Linked DNA regions of Homo sapiens: region 2 is linked to region 1. Evidence: promoter capture Hi-C in 16 types of primary human blood cells and fetal thymus (Javierre and others, 2016). All regions are on one chromosome and are shown on one strand. The core of a region is centred on a gene start or on the middle of the fragment in contact, and the rest is flanking DNA. Distances in the headings are between cores, read along the strand shown. Region 1 holds the start of GAN (gigaxonin). Region 2 overlaps NUDT7 (nudix hydrolase 7).

The links. The method cuts DNA at HindIII sites, captures the fragments that hold promoters and counts their contacts. A CHiCAGO score of 5 or more calls a contact.
Region 2: a fragment that was not itself captured here is called in contact with the fragment with the promoter of GAN in region 1 in 1 of 17 cell types (activated CD4 T cells); the score reaches 6.1 in activated CD4 T cells.

Annotation. Positions count from the first base shown.
Region 1 is chr16:81,311,839-81,317,949 of GRCh38, forward strand. GAN (gigaxonin) reads left to right here and starts at 3,124. Exons shown (of 11, transcript NM_022041.4): 1 at 3,124-3,442. The coding sequence starts at 3,276. RefSeq lists an enhancer at 2,961-3,160 and silencers at 3,171-3,510, 3,651-3,710, 3,731-4,000. The HindIII fragment of the contact is 5,241 bases long and covers 1-4,216 here.
Region 2 is chr16:77,724,565-77,730,675 of GRCh38, forward strand. It overlaps NUDT7 (nudix hydrolase 7), which reads left to right. Exons shown (of 4, transcript NM_001105663.3): 2 at 867-1,020. Among named protein-coding and RNA genes, the nearest start is that of NUDT7, 5.1 kb to the left of the region's middle. The HindIII fragment of the contact is 1,893 bases long and covers 810-2,702 here.

The sequences.
Region 1 (6,111 bases), core at 1,874-4,373:
GGAAATGACTTACAAACCAGTAAATTACAGTACAGTATGGTGAGTACAGCACAGCAGCAGGAGCATGCAGAGGACTGACCCACTCTGTCCTGGGAAGCCAGCTCAAGATTTCCTGAAGGCCATGGTTAAGCTGGGTTTTGAAGGATGAATAAGAGTTCACCAGGCCAATGGAGTGGTGGGGAATACTAGCAACAGTGTGGGTGGTATTAAAAATATATATAAAGTCTTCTTCTGCTTAGCTGCCTGTTGCACAGATGATCCTCTCAAGCCAGCAACTACCTTTCTCTTGATGGTCATTCCATTTCCTCCTTCTATCAAAACAACAGGGAAGGTTCACCTTTATCTGGAAGAGCCTGCCTGACAAATCCCCATTCACCTCCAGTTACTTCAACTAAGGCAACCTTCCTACTCGGATAATTGGTTACCTGACTGTGATCCTACTATTGGAGCTCTTTGTTTTGGAACCTCTGATATTTAAAGAATAGACTAGCACAATAAGCAATTAATAAGTACTTATCAAATATTTACATTGTGTAGAGAACTCTCCCTGGTTTTTGACTTTAAAAATGGCAAACACAAATTAACTAAGAACAGATAGAGAATACAGTTCAGAAAACATTTATTTATTTTATTTTTTATTTTTTTTGAGACAGAGTCTTGCTCTGTCACCCAGGCTGGAGTGCAATGGCGTGATCTCGGCTCACTGCAACCTCTGCCTCCCGGGCTCAAGTGATTCTCCTGCCTCAGCCTCCTGAGCAGTGGGGATTACAGGTGCCTGCCACCACACCTAGCTAATTTTTGTATTTTTAGTAGAGACGGCGTTTTACCATGTTGGCCAGGCTGGTCTCGAACTTCTGACCTCGTGATCCGCCCATCTCGGCCTCCCAAGAAACATTTATTAAGTGTCTGATATTCAGGTGTTTTTCTTTTTTTTAATCCCTCCATCCATCCAACATTCAGTTAGCACTATTACGCACCAAGTACTGTGCTTGGTACCTGGAAATCATGCTGAGCTACAATAAACATAGTATAGCAGGTGACATGGATAAATAAACCCATTATAAAAAGTTTCTTGCTCGAGCAATGTTCAAAATACAGCAACTGCTTGGAGAAAGGAATGTCAGCTGCTCACAGGGATACTGGGTAGGTATCATGGAGAAGATAAGTCCAAGCTGCTTGTCTTGTGTGTTTCTTACCTTTTTAAATATATTTTTCGGCCGGGTGTGGTGGCTTATGCCTGTAATTCCAGTACTTTGGGAAGCCAAGGTGGGCGGATCACAAGGTCAGGAGTTCGATACCAGCCTGGCCAACATGGTAAAACCCCATCTCTACTAAAGATGCAAAAGTTAGCCAGGCATGGTGGCACATGCCTGTAGTCCCAGCTACTTGGGAGGCTGAGGCAGGAGAACCACTTGAACCCGGGAGGCGGAGGTTGCAGTGAACAGAGATTGCACAACTGCACTCCAGCCTGGGCAATAGAGGGAGACTCCATCTCAAAAAAAAAAAAGAAAGAAGAAAATATTTTTCAACATCCACAAAAATATAGAAACAGTACAATGAATCTCCACATCCCCATTAAACATCCACAACAATATAGAGACAGTACAACGAATCTCCACATCCCCATTACGTGGCTTTAACAATTAGTAACTTGCGGCCACTTTTGACTCATCTACACTCCCATCTGCTTCCCCATCCCTTTGTTTTGTTTTGAAGCAAATCCTAGACATCTTTATCATTGCATCCGGGAACACTGAGCTGCATTTACAGAAGAAAGTGGAAATGCATGTGTCTTCCACAGCCGTACCCTCCCCATCTATTCTGCCCTGAAAACAGTTAGATACTCGGATTCCTGCCAGTGACTCCAAAGCCTTGGCTGGTTCAGGGTAAATACCCAAGACTTTATTGGAGCCTTTCAGTTGGTTGAAGGACAGTGAAAATTCCATCCTGTCTTGCCTGGAATGCTAGCCACATTCTTCTGGTCCGGAGTCCTCATACAATTGCTAATTTTTTAGAGGCTTATGGAGTCCCTAACGTTTGCACAAAATGGTTGCTACATTCCACACTCCCATGTGCCCTGAGCAACCTCCAGGGAAACTTCAGATACCGTGGGGCTTGGCCTGCCAGCTGAGCTGACCCAGCGATCCTTTCTATCACAGCTTTGATCTTCACTGGGTTGGGAGCCTGTCTGAATCTAAACATCTGCCTCTCTACTGCCCACCCCTTCAGCATTTCCTAGCTCTCCCTGAAAGGTGCAAACATGCATGCAGTTACTCAAACAGAATATTTATCCTTAACTCCCTCTCCCTCACAATTTCTTTTAAAACAATCCACTATTGTCTACCCCCGCCCCCGCATCACCCTTTCATCCAGGTGCCCATTCCCTTCTCTCTAGTCCTGCAATACCTAAGCATCGATCTGCCTTTAGCACATCCATCCCCGCCTTATTCTCCACGCAGGAGCTGAGTGACCTGCACAAAATCCCCTGCTAAATACGGTACTTCCATGGTTCTTCACCACTGCAGAAACCAAACTCCTTCCCACACCAAGGAGGCCCTGCAAAATTTAAGGCCTCCTTCGGACTTCTCCAGCTTCATCTGCTACATCTCCTTCCTAGCCCGCAACCAAAACCATCTTTTCCGGGTCTGTTTTCTCGGGTTTTTGTCCTCTCACCTGGGCAGCTCCTTTTCTCTCATAAATAAAGAAAGCTACAGCGACTTCGCCCTTGCTTCCATGCATCATCTCATGAGTCCACAACAACACTAAGAATTCGCTTTCATTTTGCAGACGGAGAAACTGAGGATGGGCACCTTACCCATGGCCACAGAGCTAGTAAGTGGAACAGCTGCAACCAGGATTCAAACTCGCGGCTCCAGAGGCCACAGGCTTAACCACGGAATCCTAGCCCGCCCGCACATCCCTCCATCGCGGGAGCGACCTATCTCATCCGTAGACACCTTCCGCTGCACCCAGCCGCAGCTGGTCAGGCGGGCGGAGGAAGGAGGCTTCTGATTGGCCATCTCCAGCAGCGGAGGCGAGAAGGCGGGGAGCGACGGTGCGGGGGCGTCGCGGAGAAATGACTTCATGACGCGGCTTCTTAAAGGCGCCGGCCCAGCGCGCCGCGGATAGCACAGGCACGTCCCGGGGGCTCCAGCTTCTGCTCAGAGCGCGGAGAGCCGGGCCGGGCGGGCGCGCGCGCAGGACTCGGGCCGCTCGAGGGGTCCGGCCGGACGGTGTCGGGAGCCGGACCCGTCGGCAGAGGAGCGGGCGCCGCGATGGCTGAGGGCAGTGCCGTGTCTGACCCTCAGCACGCCGCGCGTCTGCTGCGAGCGCTCAGCTCTTTCCGCGAGGAGTCTCGCTTCTGCGACGCGCACCTGGTCCTCGACGGGGAGGAGATCCCGGTGCAGAAGAACATCCTGGCGGCGGCCAGCCCGTACATCAGGTGGGGAGGGGGCTACGGCGGGCGGGCGCGGCGGTGCTGCCCGGAGCCGGAGGCGGGGCGGCCGGGCCGGGCGTGGCCCCCAGACCCTGTCCCCTGTCCCCGGCGCCGGGGTCCCCGCGTCACCGTTGGCGCGGCGTCCCTCCCGGCAAGCGCCGGAACCCGGCCCCGCTGACCGCGTCCCCCAGGCGGCCTCTGTGGCTTCCAGGCCCGCGCTCCCCACTGGACCCCCGCGCCCCTTGGAGTTGTCCCCGGACCCGGGCCGCGATCCCCCGCCTTGTCCCTCCCGGTTCCCACCGCCGCGGCGAGCGCCCGACCTCGGAGACCCTGAGGCCCCCAGACGCCGTCCTGGGCCGGCCGGGACCCGCACCTGCGGGCTGGGCGAGGCCGCGCCGGGGAAGAGTCACCCCCTCGCCCAGGCCGGGCCCGCGGTCCCCGCTGAAGTTCGCCAGTCGCTCGCCTCTGAATCCACGCGCGGGGGCTGGGCCGGCGCCGCCAACCAGGCGGGGAGCGCCCTGCCCGCTGGGAGGCCAGACAGACAGCGCCTCGCTGGGTGCAGGCAGAGAAAACCCTCTCGATGTTCTCCTTGGGTTGGTAGTCCGAACCTCCGGGCGAAATTCTCCTTGCCAAACGTGTCTTTTCCGCTCCATTCTGGTAACTGTTTAAAAGAGGAGTTACACGTTGAAGTAAACTGTAGCGAATTCTCAGGATGCTGTTACAACCCGAGGACCGTGAGAGCCTTGCGACAAAGGGCATTTTAATACTTTAGTAAAGCAAAGCTTAACCTGATTTGCCAACTCAACTAACCAGGTTAATTAAAAGGTTGATAAGACAGTGCTTATACAAGTGTATCAGATCTTGCAGGAGACTATCTTTTCTTTTAGCAACCTTCTTGCAAACTAGGTTGCTGTTTTAATAAAAGGAAAGGGGGGAATGCTAAAAACTGGAGAAACTGACCAGTAAGCTGGTTAAATATAAGCTAGTGGTAGAGAATATCACTACAATTGACAGGTCAGAAAAAGCAAAATGATGTGTATTCTTAGCGCTTTGTCCCAGCAAAACCACCACGCACGCTACACTTTTAACCTTTGCATTGGGGAGATATCTGTGCTAAACTTAGAAGAAATTCAAGTGCCCTTGTAACTTCTGGTTTCTCTTGGATTTGTTTTGTGAATCCATTTGCGCTCTTTGGCGGTGGGGAGTGTGGAGGGGTGGGGGGGCGGGGCGGCAGTAGGGTCTGGGGTAGCATCGTTAGTACAGAATTTGGATTGCTAATGTGACAGACAGCTTCTAGCTGGCAGTTCCGAGGTTTGAGCAACCCATCCCAAATTGGAGTCAGCAGACCAAAGTCTTCCCTGTTTGGGAAAATGCTGAAGAAAACTACTTTAGATGCATTATTGTTATAGTTCTTTAAATGGCATCCGTTTGGCTTAAAAGAAGTAAATTGCAAATTGCCGAATCCTTGCTTGTTATCCTTGTTCGTTTTTCTCCATAGCACTTACCACTTTGACGTACCCCATATTTTACACATTTACTTTGGTGGTCTTTCCCAACCACAGTGTGACCTCAATGAGGTCGTGGTGTTTTGTTTTGTTTTTCGAGACTGAGTTTCACTCTTTAGCCCAGGCTAGAGTGCAGTGGCGTGATCTCGGCCCACTGCAACCTCCGCCTTCCAGTTTCAAGCGATTCTCCTGCCTCAGCCTCCCGAGTAGCTGGGATTACAAACGCCCGCCACCACGCCCGGATAATTTTTGTATTTTTAGTAGAGTCGGGGTTTTACCATGTTGGCCAGGCTGGTCTCGAACTCCTCACCTCGTGATCCGCCCACCTCGGCCTCCCAAAGTGCTGGGATTACAGGCGTGAGCCGTGGCACCCGGCGGTGTTTTCTTTTATTCACTGCTTTACTCTTTGCACCCAGAAAGAACTGTGCCTATCAGTTAATGTATTGAATGAATGACTGCCTTTCTTTCTACCACAGCAAATGTGTACATTAGAAAATTGGCACCATCACATTTTCATAGTACACAGACGCTCAGTTATACCTAATTGAGAAACGCACTGGATTCAGAGTTTGAAGACCCGCTTTGTGCTTCCAGCTTTTACTCATATTAGCTGTGAGTTGCTGGTAGATGACAAGGCTTCAGCTCACTAATCTGATGAATGAGGGATAAAAATGAGTCTTCTCATTTAATCACACCTGTGAAGAAATACGTAATAGTGTTGACACCTCATAGGTCTGTTCCCATGTCTTCAAAGGTAGTACCCATTGAATTAGGAAATATCTGTAGTCCGGTTCTTTCACTTTCTAAATAAGAAAATAGGGGCTCAGTGGACATTAGTGACTTGTGTTATGAGGTTATTAGTACTTAATGGTTGAACTAGGATTAGACTCCAAATTAATTACGGCTAACCGCCTTCCTACTCTTGCCCTACCACGTTAGAGCATTACTTGTATTTCACCGTTCTCTTTGTGTAAACTTTACTGTTAGCTGGCTTACAATATCTTAGAATTAAAATGTTTATCAAGCACTTTTACATACTGTGTCATTTTGGTTTCCATTTTCAATCATCTTTAAAGAGAAGGCAGATTTTTTTTTTTTATGTTTTGTGGATAAACATGAATCAGTCAATATGTGTTTCATCAGTGACAGATGAATTGCTTTAAGTTTATT
Region 2 (6,111 bases), core at 506-3,005, 3.6 Mb before region 1:
TGGGCTCGTTTCTGCTTCTTATCAGGACAACAGTCATTGGATTTAGAGCTCACTTTAATTACATCTGAAAAGATCCTATTTCTGAATAAAGTCACACTCTGAAGTTTGGGGTAGACATGAATTTCAGGGGTGAGGGGATACTGTTCAACCCACTATACAAACTAGCAGTAGAACACACCTGTCAAAAGGACCAAAACAAGTCCACATAGGAAGGGCACCATTTGCGGTTTTAAATCCAAATGCTTGCATATTATTGGGAAATTGTTCTCAGAATGTGTTCCCCTGTCCACAGCGTCAGTAACGCTGTCATGAGGGAGTTTGATACAAATGCTAATTCTCAGGCCCTACACCAGAGTTACTGAGTCACAGTCTGGGACTGAACCTCGCAGTCTATGTGACAGCCAGCGCTCCAGGTGATTCTGTTGCTGCTAAAGCTTGGGAACCACTATTATAAGCAGTTGAAGACATAAGAGTTTGAGAACATAAGGGCCAGCTTAACAGAAGGTAGTCTTCTAACCTTCTAACCTTAACAATGACTTTTTCATCAAACCTGTCTTCTCTGAATATAATTATGGGTTTCAAAATTCAACTGTTGCATTATTGAAAAAACATTTTACCATACTTTATGTTTCAAAGAGAACCTGTGTACTAAACTGTGTGCTTAGAAGGTTTTTTTGTCATTTTCATCTTGCGAACAACCACGCAATTTAGATAGTATCATTTCTGTCGTGTTATTGAAAAATACACAGAGAGTCAGAAATGGCAAACTCCTAAATACACAACAAAGCAGAAACAGAGGCAGGACTATAAGCTTTTTACCATAACTCTGCTTGCTAAAATGTCTGTCTGGTTTGTTTTTATTTTAGAAACAGTTTGCTAGATGATGCTAAGGCCCGCTTAAGAAAGTATGATATTGGAGGCAAATATTCTCACTTGCCATATAACAAATACTCCGTCCTTTTGCCATTGGTGGCTAAAGAAGGAAAACTCCATTTGTTGTTCACCGTCCGGTCAGAGAAGGTAGGTGGACAAAAAATTTCCTGCCCTTAAACCTCAGGACATCAGAAGACCTCACGAGATTTTGTCACTTGCACACACTTTGATGCCAAAATTCTCAAAAGGGCTTTCAAAATTGTGATGTCAGAGGCATACAACCACAAGCCACAGGATAACATGGTGTTTCTTGGAGAAGGTTTAACAAGAAAATGAAGGAATTTAGCTAGCAAGCAGTTTAAAACGCTTTCACACTAGGGTTACCTAACCTTGGTGCTATTGGCATTTGGGGCTGAATAATTCTTTGGTGTGGAGGCTGTCCTGTATAATGTGGTGTGTTTACCATCATCCTTGGCCTCTACCCACCAGATGCCAGTAGCACACACAAACACAAGCTCACACACACCTTTGTCCCTTTGTCCAGTATGCCAGTAGCACACACACCACAAATGTCTTCAGAATTGCCTACTATCCTGGCAGGATTGGGGGTGCCAAATTGCCCCCCACCAAGGGCCACTGTTTTAGACTATCCCACCCCCAGTATAATGTGAAAATACTAGAGCATAGAAGTTAACGGCCTAGGCTCTAAAGCTAGCTGTCCACGTTGAATCCAGGCTCTCTCCTTGCCAGCTGTGACTTTGGCCTCGTTACTTGCCCTCTCTGTACTTCAGTCTTTTCACTTGTAAAATGAGGACAAAATATTAGTAACTGCTTCATACAGCTGCTATGAACATTTCACAGGGTAACAAATGTAAAGCACCTATATAACCCAGGTACTTGGCAAGGAAGAATTCAGTAAGTTTTAGCTGTCATCGTTAGTGTCAAGTGACCTGTCAGACATGACCTGAAGTTTTAAGATAAATGATGTCACTTTACAGAAATAATGGGCTGGGAATGGAGTTTCTGGCTCACCCCTTGTATTGGTCCATTCTTGCATTGCTATAACGAAATACCTGAGGCTGGGTATGGTGGCTCAAGCATGTAATCCCAGCACTTTGAGAGGCCAAGGTGGGAGGATCACGAGGTCAGCAGTTCGAGACAAGCCTGACCAACATAGTGAAACCCCATCTCTACTAAAAATACAAAAGAATTAGCCAGGCATGGTGGCACACACCTGTAATCCCAGCTACTCAGGAGGCTGAGGCAGGAGAAACACTTGAAACCAGGAGGCGGAGGTTGCAGTGAGCCGAGATTGTGCCACTGCGCTCCAGCCTGAGGAACAGCGAGACTCCATCTCAAAAAAAGAAAGAAAGAAAGAAAAAGAAATATCTGAGTCTGGGTAATTTATAAAGAAAAGAGGTTTCATTGAGTCATGGTTCTGCAGGCTGTACAGGAAGCATGACACAGGCATCTGCTCAGTTTCTGGAAAGGCCTCAGGGAGTGTACCATCATGGCAGAGGGGGAGCAGGAGCAAGAGAGAGAGCAGGGAAATACCACACACTTTTAAATGGCCCCGGATCTCATGAGAACTCACTCACTATCATGGGGACAGTGCCAAGATGATGGTGCTAAACCATGCGTGAGAAATCTGCCCCTGTGATCCAGTCACCTCCAACCAGACCCCACCTCCAACACTGGGGACTCCAGTTCAACATGAGATTTGGGCAAGGACAAATATCGAAACTCTACCACCCCCACACCCGTGAGCACAGTCAGTTTCCCTTGCTGTGGGGAACTTCCAAGGAAAAGCTGGTGAAGCAGTCATTTTAAGCTTATCCAAGTACAAAAAGAAAATAAGCCATATTAACAGGCTTTTTAAGCAGAATAATGAAAAGTATTTTGTTTAAAAAAAAAATGCCAAGGAATCAGCTGGAGTTTTGTGGACGTGGAAGTAGACTTGTGTGGATTGTGTTCGGTCTGAGCCAGGCAGAAATGCCGTGAACTCAGGACATGATAGAAATCCAGGTTCCAGGGGGAAATACTTAAATGGAAACCAGGGGACCAGTGTCTGTTCCCACCTCTGCCAATAAGCACAGGAGAAGCACTTACATATATTTTTTAAAATTATCAGATATGGCCGTGTGCGGTGGCTCACGCCTGTAATCCCAGCACTTTGGGAGGCTGAGGTGGGCGGATCACCTGAGGTCAGGAGTTCGAGACCAGTCTGGCCAACATGGCGAAACCCTGTCTCTACTAAAAATACAAAAAATTAGCCAGGCGTGGTGGTGGGTGCCTGTAATCCCAGCTACTGGGGAGGCTGAGGCAGGGAGAATCACTTGAACCTGGGAGGTGGAGGTTGCATTGAGCCGAGATCGTGCCACTGCACTCCAGCCTGGGCAACAGAGCAAGACTCCATCTCAATAATGAATAAATAAATAAAAATAAATAAATAAATAAAAGAGAATTGTCTAACAAACAATAATATAGGAAATCTAGACAATACTACAAACTCAACCAACGGGGTCTCTAGTTTCTTTTGTTTCACCCAGAGCCACTTTTGCCTGTTGATTATTAAGGTCACTTTTTAAAAACTATTTAAATTTAATTCAATCTGATTGTAAACACTATCTGGCTGTAGGGGTGAGAAATTCCCTCTGGAGCTCTACTGGAGCTCTGCCCCTCACACAAGCAGGGCGCTGGTAGGAGATTTCCCCCCAGTGGATGGGGAAAGCAAGGCAAGAAGTGGGTTAACCCTTCTCAAATGTGCAATCTCCCACTAGCTCTGGAACCTCGAACAAGTTTTTCTTTTTTTTCAGAAGGATTCTCGCTCTGTCGCCCAGGCTGGAGTGCAGTGGCGTGATCTCAGCTCACTGCAACCTCCGCCTCTTGGGTTCAAGCAATTCTCCCACCTCAGCCTCCCAATTAGCTGGGATTACAGGTGCACGCCACCACGCCTGGCTAATTTTTGTATTTTTAGTAGAGAGGGAGTTTCACCATGTTGGTTGGCCAGGCTGATCTTGACCTCCTGATCTCAGGTGATCTGCCCATCTTGGCCTCCCAAAGTGCTGAGATGACAAGCGTGTGCCACCACGCCCAGCCTGCAAAGTTCGTAAATCTCTTAATCACCTCGGTTTTCTCATCCCTAAAATGGGCCTGAAAACAGCGCCTCATGTGCAAGGTTGTTCTGAGCCTGAAAGAGATCTGTAAAACGCCCAGCACGGCTGCTGGCATGCCATAGTGCTGCATGCTGTTGGATGCTACCTATGTTTTCGTTATCTCCTTGTCCGGGTCCACCTTGGATAAGGGACTCCTCTCAGAACCCTAGATCCCTGGTGCCCAGCAAAGAGCTGGCAAACCCCTTTCTCCATTGCACACCTGGGCACAGCCCTTCAGGCCTTCAAAGCCACCCACTTTATAGTTTTCAGGAATTAGCTGCTCTGCATTATCGGTCCTGCTCTTCTCCCCCACACCCTTGACCTCGCATCCCTCCTCTGTCCCCTCTTCTACCCTCCTCCACCCTCCTCCCTGCACCCCATTCTCTGGGACTGGAAGTAGGCAAGAGAAAATTCAGGAACAAAGCAAAGATTGAAGTCTTAGGAAATTAGGCTGCAGCTTTACTTGGCCTCTGAGTAGCATTTCAGAAGGTTTTATTGAATAAGAAATGTATACTATTTATCAAAAAAATAACTGACCGCTTTTGTGCTTAGAGCCCTTTGCAGTGCTAATAGTTTTTGATTAGTCAGTTTTAGAAATGTGCCTGTTTTCTTCAAAACAGCGTAATATTTTCTTTTTTAAAAACAAAATTAAATAGATTTATCTTTTTAGATTTAAATAGATTTAACTTGTAGAGATTTATCCTGTACAATATGATGCTTTGAAGTATATATTCACTGTGGAATGACTAAATCTAGCTAATTAATTTACTACCTCACATCATAGTAACATACTACTTCACATAGTAACATATCACCACACACAATACCTCACATAGTAACATATTACTATACATATTACCTCACATAGTAACATATCACCATATACATCATATAGTAACATGTCATCATACATATTTTCTTCAAAATAGCATATTTTCTTTAAAAAAAAATTTAGGCCAGGCATGGCTCACACCTGTAATCCCAGCATTTTGAGAGGCCAAGGTGTGGGGATCACCTGAGGTCAGGAGTTTGAGACCAGCCTGGCCAACATGGTGAAACCCCATCTCTACTAAAAATGCAAAATTAGCTGGGTGTGGTGGTGCACACCTGTAGTTCCAGCTACTCGCGAGGCTGAGGCAGGAGAATCGCTTGAACCTAGAAGGCAGAGGTTGCAGTGAACCGAGATTATCCCACTGCACTCCAGCCTGGGCAACAGAGCGAGACTCTATCTCAATAAATAAATAAATAAATAAATTTTAAATCAACAGATAAAATTGTATAGATTTATCCTGTACAACATGATGTTTTGAAGTATATATTCACTATGGAATGACTAAATCTAGCTAATCAATGTACTAACTCACATAGTAACATATTACCACACACATTACCTCACATAGTAACATATTAACACATATACTACCTCATATGGTAACATATCACCACACACATTACCTCACATAGTAACATATTAACACACATACCTCATATGGTAACATGTCACCACACATAACATACTATCTCACATAGTCATCATCTTTGCACTAAGAACACTTTATATCCATTCAGCAATTTTCAAGAATACAGTATGTTAACTATAGTTACCATAGTATACAATACATCTCTCGAATTTATTCCTCCTGACTGGCTGAAACTTTTTATCTTTTGACCAACATCTCCCCAACCTCCCCCCAAACCACCTCAGCAGCTAGTAACCACCATTCTACTCTCTACTTCTCTGAGACTGACTTTTTAATATTCCACATATGAATGAGATCATGTGGCATCTGTGACTGGCTTATTTTACCTAACATAATTTCCTCCAGGTTCATCCATGTTGTCACAAATGACAGGATTTCCTTCTTTTTTATGACTGAATAATATTCCTCTCTGTATATACATTTTCTTCATTCACTTGTTGATGGATACTCAGGTTGATTCCATGTCTTGGCCATTGTGAACAATGCTGCAGTAAACATGGGTGTGCAGAGACCTCTTCGATATACTGATTTCATTTCCTTTGGATATATAACCAGTAGTGGGATTGCTGGATCATATGGCAATTCTGTTTTTAATTTTTTGA